Regions from separate parts of the Homo sapiens genome. Here all the other regions are linked to region 1. The links are contacts of gene promoters, found by promoter capture Hi-C in blood cells and fetal thymus (Javierre and others, 2016). All regions are on one chromosome and are shown on one strand. Each heading gives the region's core, a stretch centred on a gene start or on the middle of the fragment in contact. The rest is flanking DNA. Distances are from core to core; before and after follow the strand shown. Region 1 holds the start of APCDD1 (APC down-regulated 1). Region 2 has its middle 200 kb from the start of LINC01254. Region 3 has its middle 150 kb from the start of LINC01254.

Region 1 (3,945 bases), core at 811-3,310:
CTAAATAGGAAGTATAATTACAACCCCTACCTCTCAAAATAGGGAGAACATGTTCAGAGTTACCTTGTGTACAAGGTTGCATCTCTGAGGATCACTTTTGTAGTTTAAAAGGCAATGATTTTACCCCAAAAAATGCTGTTCATGCCAACTTTTTAAGTAATTTTTTAAATTTTAAAATCATTTGACCATACTATCTTTTTTCTTCACAGATATTACAACAATTTTTTTAAGGGGGACAATGTTTCCTGTTTCATCTCTCTCTTTTGTTTCTTGTGTGTGTGGCAGCTGCTGTTTGATCTGTTCATTGGCTCTGATTTGTTTCATGTTTCAGCCAAAGATTAAAACTGCTCTGTAATTCTAAGCAGATGGGCCTAGGAGTCCAACCCTATAATTATACCTTCTCTCTTTTTGCCCTCTGCAAGCCTTCCATCCCGACTGTTAAAATTCTGGGATCACTGGGGCTCTGAGTACACCTTGGCAACTGGACAGGTCTGGCCCAGCCAGACAAGTTCACAAAGCCTGTGGAGCTATGCGAGCCATCCACCTGGGGCAGGACTACAAAGAAAACAGCATCCCGGTGGCTTGTGGGTTAACAATTCTTCCCTTTCCTTGATCCTCCGGAGGGAAGGTCCTCAGCCTGACTTTCAGTCCTGGCTACCATGCATTCTGAAGCCGGAGCCCGCTACAGGTTTGGGGTGGCTGTGGTGGGTGTTGAGGAAGGAGAGCCGTGAAGTCATGCTGTTGAAACGTCAGGTGTCTGACCATTAGGGACAGTTTGCTCAGGACATCCACATCAACACGACGTGATCTGCCACGGCTTGTCAGGATTATGAACCCGACGCGCCATAAAACCTGCCTTGTCCACCCCAAAGAAATTCTGTCTTGGTGTTTTCAGCGCAATTTCTGGAACCCGCTGAAAGGGCTGATGTTCTCTAGCTAAAGGTTTACTAGAACCCCTGGGGAAAAGTGGCACTGGAAGCCCAGGAAATGGGACGTCAAGTTGGGGTGCACATTGGGAGACTGGTAATAATGATTAAATCTTGGCTAATAGGGGTCCCCTGTTTCTTAAAATTACACCCAGAGAACGCAACAGTCCACTTGGGAGAAAACCCCACAACCCCGCCTCAATCGCGAGGCAAAGTGCAGGCAGACAACAAACACTAGTTTTCAGAAGGCAGACAGACGTGTCTTTCCCAAATGATCAGTTTCTCTTTCCACTCTCCTAAACGCTTGGAACACATCAAGAGCCTGCTGCATTCTGGCATTTTGGAAAAAGGCTCGCAGAGCCGGCGATTTCATGGCAGTGTACAGTTGGAAAATCCAGCAGAGCGGACGAAAGTTTCCCTCGGACTGGATGCAACGGATTCTGGACATAAAAGGTGTCTGCGTGGGAGAGCTTCCACCCTTCCAAAAAGAACAGTCCCGCAGCAAAGAGCTCCGGGCGCCCTGGGGGAGAGCGGTCCCAAGCCTCGGAAAGTGGGCAGAGCCCCCTCTCCCAGGGCTGAGACGGCAGGCGCGGGGCTCCCCTCGGACCCGCCCCGCCAAGGGGACAGTGTAGGCCGTGCCGCGATCCAGACCCGACGCCTCCGCGGGCTCCGCGGCGCCCGGGCTGCCTCCGCCGGCTGGGAGCGCTCGAGTGGCCCTCGGGAACTCACCGTGAAGCAGGAGGGCCGGGAACAGGTATCTGAGCAGGAGGCGGCGCGGCCAGGACATTTCCAGTCCTGCTCTGGGGCCTCCCGCACGCCGCGCTCCGATTTGGTGCCCGGGCAACTGGGCGCGCGCTCTGCCCTCCGCCTCCGGCCGGGTGCGGCCGGGCCAGGCCGGGGCTTCAGGCGGCTGCCGCGCGCCCCATGCCCGGCGGGCTAGGCGCGGGGCTGCGGGGCGCGCGCTCTCTGGGCGCCGTCGGGCGGCTGTGGGCGCCCCGGCCCGGTCCGCGTCCCGGCCTCTCTGCCGCCCGCCCCGACTTCTCCGCGCCCGGCCCCGCGTCCCGCCCCGGCCGCCGCGTGCGCCGCTCTGAGCTGCAGTGGCCGCCACCGCCACCGCAGCTGCAGCGTCTCTTCATATTTCCAGCGCGCCGCCGGCCGGGCAGCCTGGCCGCGGCACGGAGGAGGGGCCCTGGAGGGGGCGGTCGGGGGAGGCGACGCCGAGCCACCGCCCCCGGGCAGCCGCCGCCGGGGGGGAGCGCGGAGACTTGAAAGGGCGCGTCGGGCAACGCCTCCCCTCCTCCCACTCCGGGCGCCCCTCCTCCCCCCGCTCCCCTCCCGCTTCCCTCCTTCCCCTCTCTCGCCTACCCCTCCTCTTCCAGCTTCCTACCCCTTCCATCCTCCCCTCCTCCTCTCCTCCCTCCAGGCCCCTCTGCCTCCCTCTGGCTCTGCGCACCCCTTTCTCTCCTCCCCGTCCCCCATTCCGGGCGCGCTTCCTCCTTGGAGGGGGTGGGAGCCTTTGGCCCCGCACCCCGCCCGCAAGGAAAGAGAATGCGCGGGTCACCCTTCCGCCTCCGCCCACTCCCCTGGGGAAAGGTGTTCAAAGGGGGTGCGGGCGGCGAGGCTGGAGGCCTGGCGTGGGATCCAAGCAAAGCGGCCTGCTGAGCCGGGGTGTGTGCCAGCGCGCAGCCATGGGAGAGAGGGGAGACCAAAGAGAGAGTCCTGGAGGGTTGCTGGGGGTGAGGATGCGTCAGTGCTGGGCCCCCTCGTGGGTGCGGTGCAGGTCTTCACTACAAATCGCCTACCCCGGCCCAGTGCCTGGCTCCTCTGGGGAGCACGGAGAACCTTGTCATAGGCCCCAACCTGGGAAGGGCACGGTGTAGGAGGCAGGAGCCCGTTCACTTTTTCCTCCCCCTTCCACTAGGCAAATGACTTGTTGAAACGGGAGAAATCTCCGAGAAACGCTCCCTGTCAGTCTAAGAACGTGCACTTAGGCCCCTTCGCCGAGTCCTCTTCTCTTCCAGAGCAAATTGAATCACCACAATCAAAGCTGATTTTATTTGTGTTCGCGGTCTTGTGGGGGAGGGGGGACTACATGGGCGTTTGAGACCCAAAGGCAGGAAGAGTTTCCCCTGGGGTCCTTCGTTCTCCAATGCGGGTACAAGGCAGTGGCCATCTGATTTACCTGGAAGGTCCCTCCTCTGCCAAGGGCCTGCTTGAGCCCTTCCCCTCTTCCAGCAGTTTTCCCCCTCCTAAGGTTAATGTCACCTCTTCTCCACACTAGGATAAAGAGCAGACAGGAGACCCAGTGGAGTCTAGAGAACATTTCTTGACGCAACCGTTAGTGTTTTTCATTTAAAAAAAAGATTAAAATAAATGCCTGATTTCCCAAGAGAATTCTCTGCCCCTTTGAACAATGCAATAATTCAACTCCTTATGTGTTAGACTTTCAAAAGTAGTTGGATCTTAGCAACGGTATAATAGTAAAATAGATGAGAATACATTTGACAGTTTCCACTTTTCTTTTTTTTTTTTTAACCTGAGAAATCCATGGGTGTTTTGATGTGATAGTGCTGACGCTGTTTGATGTGTCTTAATTTTTATCACCATCATTATCATCTTTCCATCATTAATACAGAGGATCATAAGATGTACCAGCTGCTCAGCTCACACGGATGTTGTGAAGATTAATGTGCTCCTGTTTGCAAATCTTGAAGATGAAAGAATACCTGTGTGGGCAAAAAGAAGATCATGAAAACGATGCCTATGAGCGCAGGCATTATTTTGTGTTAGTCTTGCTCTGCCACATCTTTCTGAGCCTGACTTTGTACCTGATCGTTCTCTCATCCCAGTTGCTAGGCTTGGGTAGCAGACTATGATTTGTAAGATTTGAATGTTTGCCAAGGGCCAATCAAATTTTCATTTTAAACCAAGAATTTGACTTCTTCACGAATGTTGGGCAGTTGGAAACGATGTAAACAGCATACTTGGTTGGTTATGCAGAACAAAAGCCTTGTCACCA
Region 2 (3,945 bases), core at 372-2,871, 240 kb after region 1:
ATGGATATTTTCCTATTGTACAGATGCTGGCAGTGATACAGGAAGGGTAAGTGGGAGAAGGATGAGACCGGAGGCAGGAACCACCATTCAACCTATTATAGGCAAAAGGAGGGTCACTACAAATATGGCAGGAAGAGCCCTCCTCTGTCATGGTGGCCTCTTCCGCAGTGGGAAAACTGCTCTTGGTATTTTACGTCTTCTTTTTCCCTTTTATTCTTTCTCCCAATGCTAATGTGTGGGATGGGAAAAAGATACTGAGGTTGAGGGCCTGGCCCAAGATGAAAACTAACGTTTTTGTCTGTGAGCATGGGAAGGTTAGACACACGTGGAAGATTCTCACTCCTTCCTTTCCTGACATCCATTGTTTAATTGTGTCTAGAAGTCTGGAAAGTGCCAGACACAAGTTTGACTCCATGAAGAAAGAGGCACAGAGCAAATGATAATGATATCTGGACTTCAGAATAAACTGCAGATCTGAAGATATTTGGAAATCTTTTATTGGTTCCATACACACAGTTGTTATGATTACATCAGATGAATAATTAAAGAAGACAGACATACTATGCAGAAAGAAAGAAAGTACAACGTGATCTGAGTCTGTATCATCACCTTTCTTCCTCTTCAGCATTTTCTTCCATGCTGCTTTATTAATTAAACCAAAAGTGTGTTTTGTTTCTCTGTTAAACAAAGTGAAATGATTACTGACATGTGATGATAGTTCCCAAAGAGTTTTTCAAATCGGACCTTTCTAAACCAGTTTTTACGAAAGGAAATCTGGCATGTTTGTTTTTTTATCTTTTTATGTGCCTTACTGAATGCTGTTTACTTCATTACATTTTGTTTGTTTGTGTGTTTCTGAAGAATGTTTAGAGCCCTAGATAGGAAAAGACAAAAGAATAAGAACAGAAGAGCAACAGTATGGCCTCTTGGCTTATGATATAATGATGGCTTCTTAATGAATCCTGATCATGAACTGAGAATTAAACAATTGGGCTGAGGCCTTCTTAATGGGCCTATCAATGGTTTATGACAGTGTGAAATAATAGGAAACCCCTCTTGCAATTGTAATTCATTGGTTAAGCTTGTTACTCTCTGCTGAGCCATCATTTTGTCATTGGAATCCAACTCATTTCTCCTCTTACCCTAGCTATCCCTGCCCAGCAAAGATGTGGAACTGACAACTCATCGTATCACACGTTCTGGCCCCAAGGACTTCCAAATATCTAGGTTGTCCTTCATTTAGCAAAAAGAAAGTGTGCGTAGGGGTAGAGGGTGAGGGGAAGAATTCCCACTTCAAGGGACCACCCTAAGGACTCTTCTTTTCTGGAGTAGTTCCACACTGGCATTCCTTCCTTCAAACAGAAAAATGTGTAAGAAACAGCCACTGTATGCCTTGTACTCAGTGCTGGGAAGGCAGACAGGAATGAAGCACAACCCATGATTTCAGCGGTAGCCCTGCAGACAGACACAAAGAATTGCACCATAATGGAGGCGTGAAGTAAGTGTGGGGGCTGCCTAGGGGAGGTGGGACTAACTCTGCCGGAAGAGTATTGAACCATAACAAATCAGGCAATGGGCTTGTTTTTTTTTAAAAAAAAAATCCTCTAAATTCAAGACTATATGAGCAACCAACTGGAAAATTCAGTATAAGCCTTCTGGTACCCACCCAGGCAGAATTAATCCAAAGGTCTTCTCTCTTAGTACTTTGTTCTTTTCATTAAGTAGAGCCCTACCACACTGCATAATAGGAAGTCGGTTATCTGCCTGTCTGCCTCTGTGTTCCCCTTCACAGGGCCAAACTCCGGGTTGGTCTTAATGCCTATTGGCATTAAATAAATGATCAAATGATCTAATGAAGGAAGCCGCTGCTACCTGTGTCTTCTGTGTTTCTCTCTATGCATTAGTATGGAGGGATCTTGAAACTTTTCATAAATTAAACTCAACCTCTTTCTCCCATTCCCGCCCCCACTCTCAACTCAGAAGCTCAGAGCCTGGCTCTAAGTCGTGTTTCTTCTGCATTCCTTGACAGTTATTTGTTATAATCGTTTTAGGCACTTTGAGGTTACTTAATAAATGTTGGCAATTTGACTGACAGATGAAATGGGTAGGGATGTTACACATTTAAAGTACAAACAGGAAATGTTTATTAAATAGAAGCTTGAAATAATTGTTTGAGATATGACAAGATAGAGTTTTCTAAACCTGTTTACTGTATGCAAGATGGGCTAGATGGAGTCCTTTGATGAATTAGTTTCTTGCGTTTTTTCCAAATATTTCTTGTTCTCTTTTCTTTTCATTGGGGCATATATTTCCCACCTTTGGCACAAGATTGAAAAGCCCTGGTGGTCCCACTTCTTTCTGTATGTACAGAACAGTGAGTTACTGTGTGGTCAACATGTCCGGACAAGTCTGAAGGGAGATCAGGGATGTATATGTGCATATGCGCGTGCGAGTGTGCTTGCATGTGTGCGTGCGAGTGTGCATGTGTGTGTGTACATGCATATGCCCAACGTGTATACAGTTATAGGTCAATTCAGACAATTAACATTCTTTCTCCTGCTGTAGAAAAATAATATTACTTATATATTCAAACATTTGCTTCCCAAAAGCCAAAAGAAAAAGAAAATAAACTTTTTGTTAAAGACATTGTTGGTAGGTGGTTTGGGGATTGCAAATTATTGTTCTTTACTGCATCTTTTGGAAAATAAACTCAGTAAAAATTGAGAATCGCTTCTCAGCCTTTTGGCTGAGTGTGGTAAAAATTGAGATTATTGTATTAGAGGATTCACCCTTTTGATTTCTCTTATTATTTGAACTACAGAAAATAATGCGCATTTGGAGACCTTGTTTTTATTTTCATTGTCTTTCACCTTTATGTCTTATTAAGAATATTATTTTGGTAATATTTTGACTTATTTGTCTTTACATACGCTGATTTATCTTTTCCTTACTGGTTTTATGACCTATTTAAGTGATATTGATGACAAGAATTATGTTAATAATGAAAGTAAAAACGAGGCAAGGTACCTAGAGTCTTTTACATGGTATTATATAGTCATGTGCGACACAACAACATTTTGGTCAATGACAGATCACATATATGTCAGTGGTTCCATAAAATAATAATACCACATGCATACTGTATCTTTTCTATATTGAGGTATGTTTAGATACACAAACATTTACCACTGTGTTCCTGCTGCCTGCAGTATTCAAGATAGTAACCTGCTGTACAGATTTGTAGCCAGGGCCAATGGGCCATACCCTGAAGCCTAGGTGGGTAGTTGGCTGTACTATGTAGGTTTGTGTAAGTGCATTCTACGATATTCACACAGTGATGAAATAGACTAATGATGCATTTCTCAGAACATATCCCCATCATTAAGGAATTCATGACTGTACTTGAGTTTCCCCTTAGAAATTCATGTTAAAATTTAACCCTCAATATGGCAGTGTTGGGAGGTGGGGCTTAGTAGGAGGTGTTTGGGTCATGGGGCACCACGCTTATGAGTAGATTAACACTACCTCACAGAAGTCAGTGAGTTCTCACTCCTTCAGAACTAGATTAGCTCCCAACAGCGGGTTGTTACAAGTTAAGCCCAGCCTCTTGTGTGTGCCTCTTTGAACATGTCCACCTGCCTTTCTGCTTAGCACAGCAGCCCTTACCAGAAGTCAAGCAGATAACAGCATCATGCTCTGGAACTTTCCAGCCACCATAATTGTGAGGAAAACAATCCTCTTTTCTTTATAAATTACCCAGTCTTAAGTATTTCATCATAGTAACACAAAATGGACTAAGACAGTTTATGACATGTGTTTCCTTATTCCCCATTTTACAGATGGGAGACTAAAGCTTAGGGAAATTACATGATTTGCTCAAATTCACCTAGAAAGCTGGGTTCTACCCTGGGCTACTACTCCTCTTTCACTCTACCTAGTGTGCCT
Region 3 (3,945 bases), core at 664-3,163, 190 kb after region 1:
ATATTCTGCGGTTGTCGTCACGAATCCTTTGAGATCAATGTCAGATAGCAAAACTCTACGACTCACCCAACAAACCTCTCCCAGCACCATGTCAGAGGCAAACACTGACCCTAGCCTGACATTCTACAGCATTGATTCAGTTCTTATCTCTTTATATCTTGCAGCCAAGAGCCTTGAGCTTTATCTACATTGAATGGAATTAATTAAATTTAGAGACAGTGGAGTGGTTGGTTGAAAAATGGCTCGTCAATACTAAATAATTTATAAATACAGACAACCTCCCTCATTCCAACTCAGTGAAATCAATCCAACAATTTATTCAACCCCCAAAGTAGTACATTCCACCTTGGGGTGTTGCCGACTAGAGGTACATGACCACCTGCCATCAGAGCTTATCTTGATCTTGAGACAGGAGTCAGCCAATATTTTAAACCAAACTCAAGTGGAAAACACAAGAGAAAGAGGAAGTAGCTAGAGTCTACTGTTCCTAGACACAAAAAGAATTAACTTGACTACAGACAGGAAGGGTTGCAACTGGCAAGGGAGTTAGGAATGGACTAGAGTAGAACCATTGCCTCAGTTTGTGGCTTAGGAAAAGAAATGCCAAAGGGGGATGATTGGCCAAGGATGCACATTGTGGGTTGAAGGTGGGGCCAAGGGCCACCTCCTCTCTCCCATGCAGGGTTCAATCCCATCTGAGACAAAACTATTTTCACACTATGCTGATTAGTTTATTGGAGTCCAGGATAAAGAATTTTATACCTTGATGTCTGGAACTGAGATTGAAATCACTCCAGAATTTTGTTGGAAATGCTAACATTAAACAAAAGGTGTGGGCTAGAAACAGTTTGAAGAAAGTCTGGACATTCTGGCATTCGGGGAGATGTGTTCAAGATGCCTTCTCCCAACTTCTCCCACACACCCCAACTTGTATAGCAGTGAGGTTGGGGTTAAGGGACTAGGTTCCAGCCAATGGGATGTGGCAGAAGTGATATAGGCTACCTTCTGGAGGGACAACAGAGCCCCTTGTATAAACCTCTAGACCAGCTGTGTCCACTGGAACTCTCTGCACTGGTGGTGATGTTCTGTACTACACTGTCCACTGTGGTAGCCACTGGTCTTATGTGACCAAACACCTGAATTAAAATTTTATTCAACTTTAATTGAATTAAATTAATAGAATTAAATTAATTGAGAGGTTGGAAAGGTTGGGAAGCAGACTGTCAAGAGGACCAGCAATAGAACAATAGTACTGATACTGGCCTCAAGTAAACAGAGAGAGAACACCTGCTCCCCCACACCATTGGCGGAGCTGTGGGACGACACCAGTACATCTCCTCTGCTCTGAATTTTTAAACTCTTCTGTTTTCACTAATAGCAAAGTTCTGGCTGTTGTCATCTTTCTCCCTTCATTTGTTCAAAAAGGTTGTTGTACAAGCTTAGCATATCATTGTCTGATATTTTCTAAATTTGGCACTCATGGTTCATACAGGATGAAGGTTGTTCAGCCACATTCACTGGGGAACCCATTAGCAATACAGGGCCATTTCAATCCTGTCTGATCTTGGCCTAAAGTAAGAACTACATTTTATGTCATGGATTAAGATACATAGTACATTCAAACACACAACTGAAATAAAGTTTTTATGAAATAACACTAGCCTCACTACAGAAAAGCCACTTGGTTATTTTCTGTTCTATTTATTCACTTATGTAAATGCTCATCACCACACGCTCAATGAACCACAAACGGTTCGTGATCTACAGTTTGAAAACCCTTAGCATGAGGAGAATATAGACATTCAGCCCACTCCTCACGGCCACCATGTTCTTGCGGGGGACTGTCAGGGTCTCCCGGCTCAGCCAGACTCACAGCTGGTGGGATCTGATAGATAAATGGTGCTCCTGCTTATCCCCACGGCTGCTTCCAACTTGGGCTTCCTTCTGGGCTCGCTCTCCTTGGAGGAGCCCCTGGAGAAGGCCCTTTCACAGCCCGCAGGCTGATTCTGGTGGGAATGATGAAACAGATCAAGGAGTCCTCCATGACCATGACCACGTCCAGATCTGAGGGCAGGAGCAGATCTGCTCACGGTGGCTTAGCAGACACTGATAAGGAGGATTTGGGAACAGCCATTCTTCTTTTCACTATGATTTTAAAACTTTCCATTCTCAAAACAATGTTCAAATCAAGTCTGCAAATGTCATGAAACAACTTACAGGCTCTCGTGTCCTCACCCTCTGTTGAGAGTGAATTGTTCCTCCCCCATGGCCAGGTCCCTCGCAGGGCTGGCATGGCAGGGTGGTCTCTCTGCTCTGCTTTTCTGAGGTTGGGGTGCACTCCCACTTCCGGTGGCCCTGGCAGCCTCCTGGGAGCAGCGGGGAAGCTTCCCTTAACCCACCTTTCTCCCGTTCCTCCAGTGCCTTTGCAAGGTTACCCTTGAGTTTCCTGGTACCCTGGCCAGGCAGACCAGGCTGATCAGTTACCTCCTGCAGCTCCCATGTCTGAAATCTGCCCCTCTTTTCCACTAATTGATGCCTTGGGAAATAAGGTTTCTAATGACTAAAAGCAAATGAGGTTGAGCGTGCACTATGATGCAAATAGCAAGGGTCGTGATAATTCTAGACCAAGTAACACCTGCTTGACCACTGTTCAACTCCCGAGCACACTGTGCTGAGCTGAAAGCTGGCCTTTGCCTCTGCAGGGGACTTCAGCTGGGATTCCACTGGGCTGGGTCTAGAGGGGGCTTCTCTCAAAAAAAGCTCAGGGCATGTCTCCCCACATTATGGCCAACCCTCTCTAGAAAGACATTTTATTTAAAAACCTATTGGTGTCCTAGTTCTATGAAATTCCTCTTAATGTAAGCCCTGAACAAACTTCTTTGGCGGCCAGAGCCCTGGAGCCGTGTTAGAATGCCATCTTCCCTGTGTTCTTTTCTTGGAAAAATCCCAAGAGACCAGGACTCAGCCAGCTTCCTGTTGAAGATTCTAAACCCCTGTGTTTCCCATCAGGACTGCTGACAAAAGAGAGGGGGCTCTCCAGGCAGGACCCCACAGAGGGCGGTGTGAGCAGGGACTGGAAGACAGGAGAGGCAGGGTGTGGTCTAAACCAGCCTCGGGGCCATTCCTCACTGCTGAGGGAAGAGGGTAGGCAGATGGCTCCGTTAGGAACTCTGGGCCCCCCGATCGCTCCAGTTGACTGGGGCCTTGCTATCTTTTCATTTTCATCCTAAAATGATTAGGTTTGAATGCTGAGGTTTCATGTTGAAAATGTAATGAGAACCTTCGTGGATTGGAATGAGATGCAGAAAGCTGCACAGATGGGGTTTCTTTCTGGGGACTGGGCAAAGGGAAACGCTCAGGCAGGAAATGGATCTGGCGCCTTCCAAGACCTTCGGGTTGCTGGGCAGCCACTTCTCGGGATCCTAATTTTCCAGCTCTTTCCTGAGCACTGCCGCCCGCTTTTTTGTCTCATAATCACAGAGACAGGGGAGACACACTGTGGGAAACAGTAGTGTCTGGCGCTGCTAAGCAATTACTCAGAATGAAAGGTTTGCCATCTTATAAGTAGCACTAAGCCGGGAAGGGGGAGGTCAAGAAGAGGCCAAAAAGGGAAAAAACCTCAATTTCTTCAGCTACCCCCAAAAGAAAACCAGACAAATGTTTGGCTTGGGCATTGTGGGTGCCCAAACAATCAGGTAAAAAATTTAAAATCTGGTGACTATAACCGTTTTGAATTTGTGATGCTAAACAGCTAGCTTTTTATGGTGTTTTTTTCCCCCAGAAACTTCACAAAGAATAAAAATTTACCTCCAGGCCAAGGAGATATATTGGGTCTTTCTTCGAACATCTTTTGAAGGCCTTGTGTGGTGAAAAGCAAATCACATCCCATCGCTTCAAAAATGCTGATTTCAAAAATTCCCTTGTTTTCAATATCACTCCCAGATA

The links. Contacts are between HindIII fragments. The CHiCAGO score rates a contact against its expected background, and 5 or more counts as called.
Region 2: a fragment that was not itself captured here is called in contact with the fragment with the promoter of APCDD1 in region 1 in 4 of 17 cell types (naive B cells, endothelial precursors, M2 macrophages and 1 more); the score reaches 6.3 in naive B cells.
Region 3: a contact is called between a fragment that was not itself captured here and the fragment with the promoter of APCDD1 in region 1, in 1 of 17 cell types (naive B cells). The highest score is 5.4, in naive B cells.

The regions. Positions count from the first base shown.
Region 1 is chr18:10,452,750-10,456,694 of GRCh38, reverse strand. It overlaps APCDD1 (APC down-regulated 1), which reads right to left and starts at 2,060. Exons shown (of 5, transcript NM_153000.5): 1 at 1,656-2,060. The coding sequence starts at 1,713. The HindIII fragment of the contact is 7,093 bases long and covers 1-3,945 here.
Region 2 is chr18:10,208,008-10,211,952 of GRCh38, reverse strand. No RefSeq gene overlaps it. Among named protein-coding and RNA genes, the nearest start is that of LINC01254, 200 kb to the left of the region's middle. The HindIII fragment of the contact is 1,076 bases long and covers 1,084-2,159 here.
Region 3 is chr18:10,262,252-10,266,196 of GRCh38, reverse strand. No RefSeq gene overlaps it. Among named protein-coding and RNA genes, the nearest start is that of LINC01254, 150 kb to the left of the region's middle. The HindIII fragment of the contact is 946 bases long and covers 1,441-2,386 here.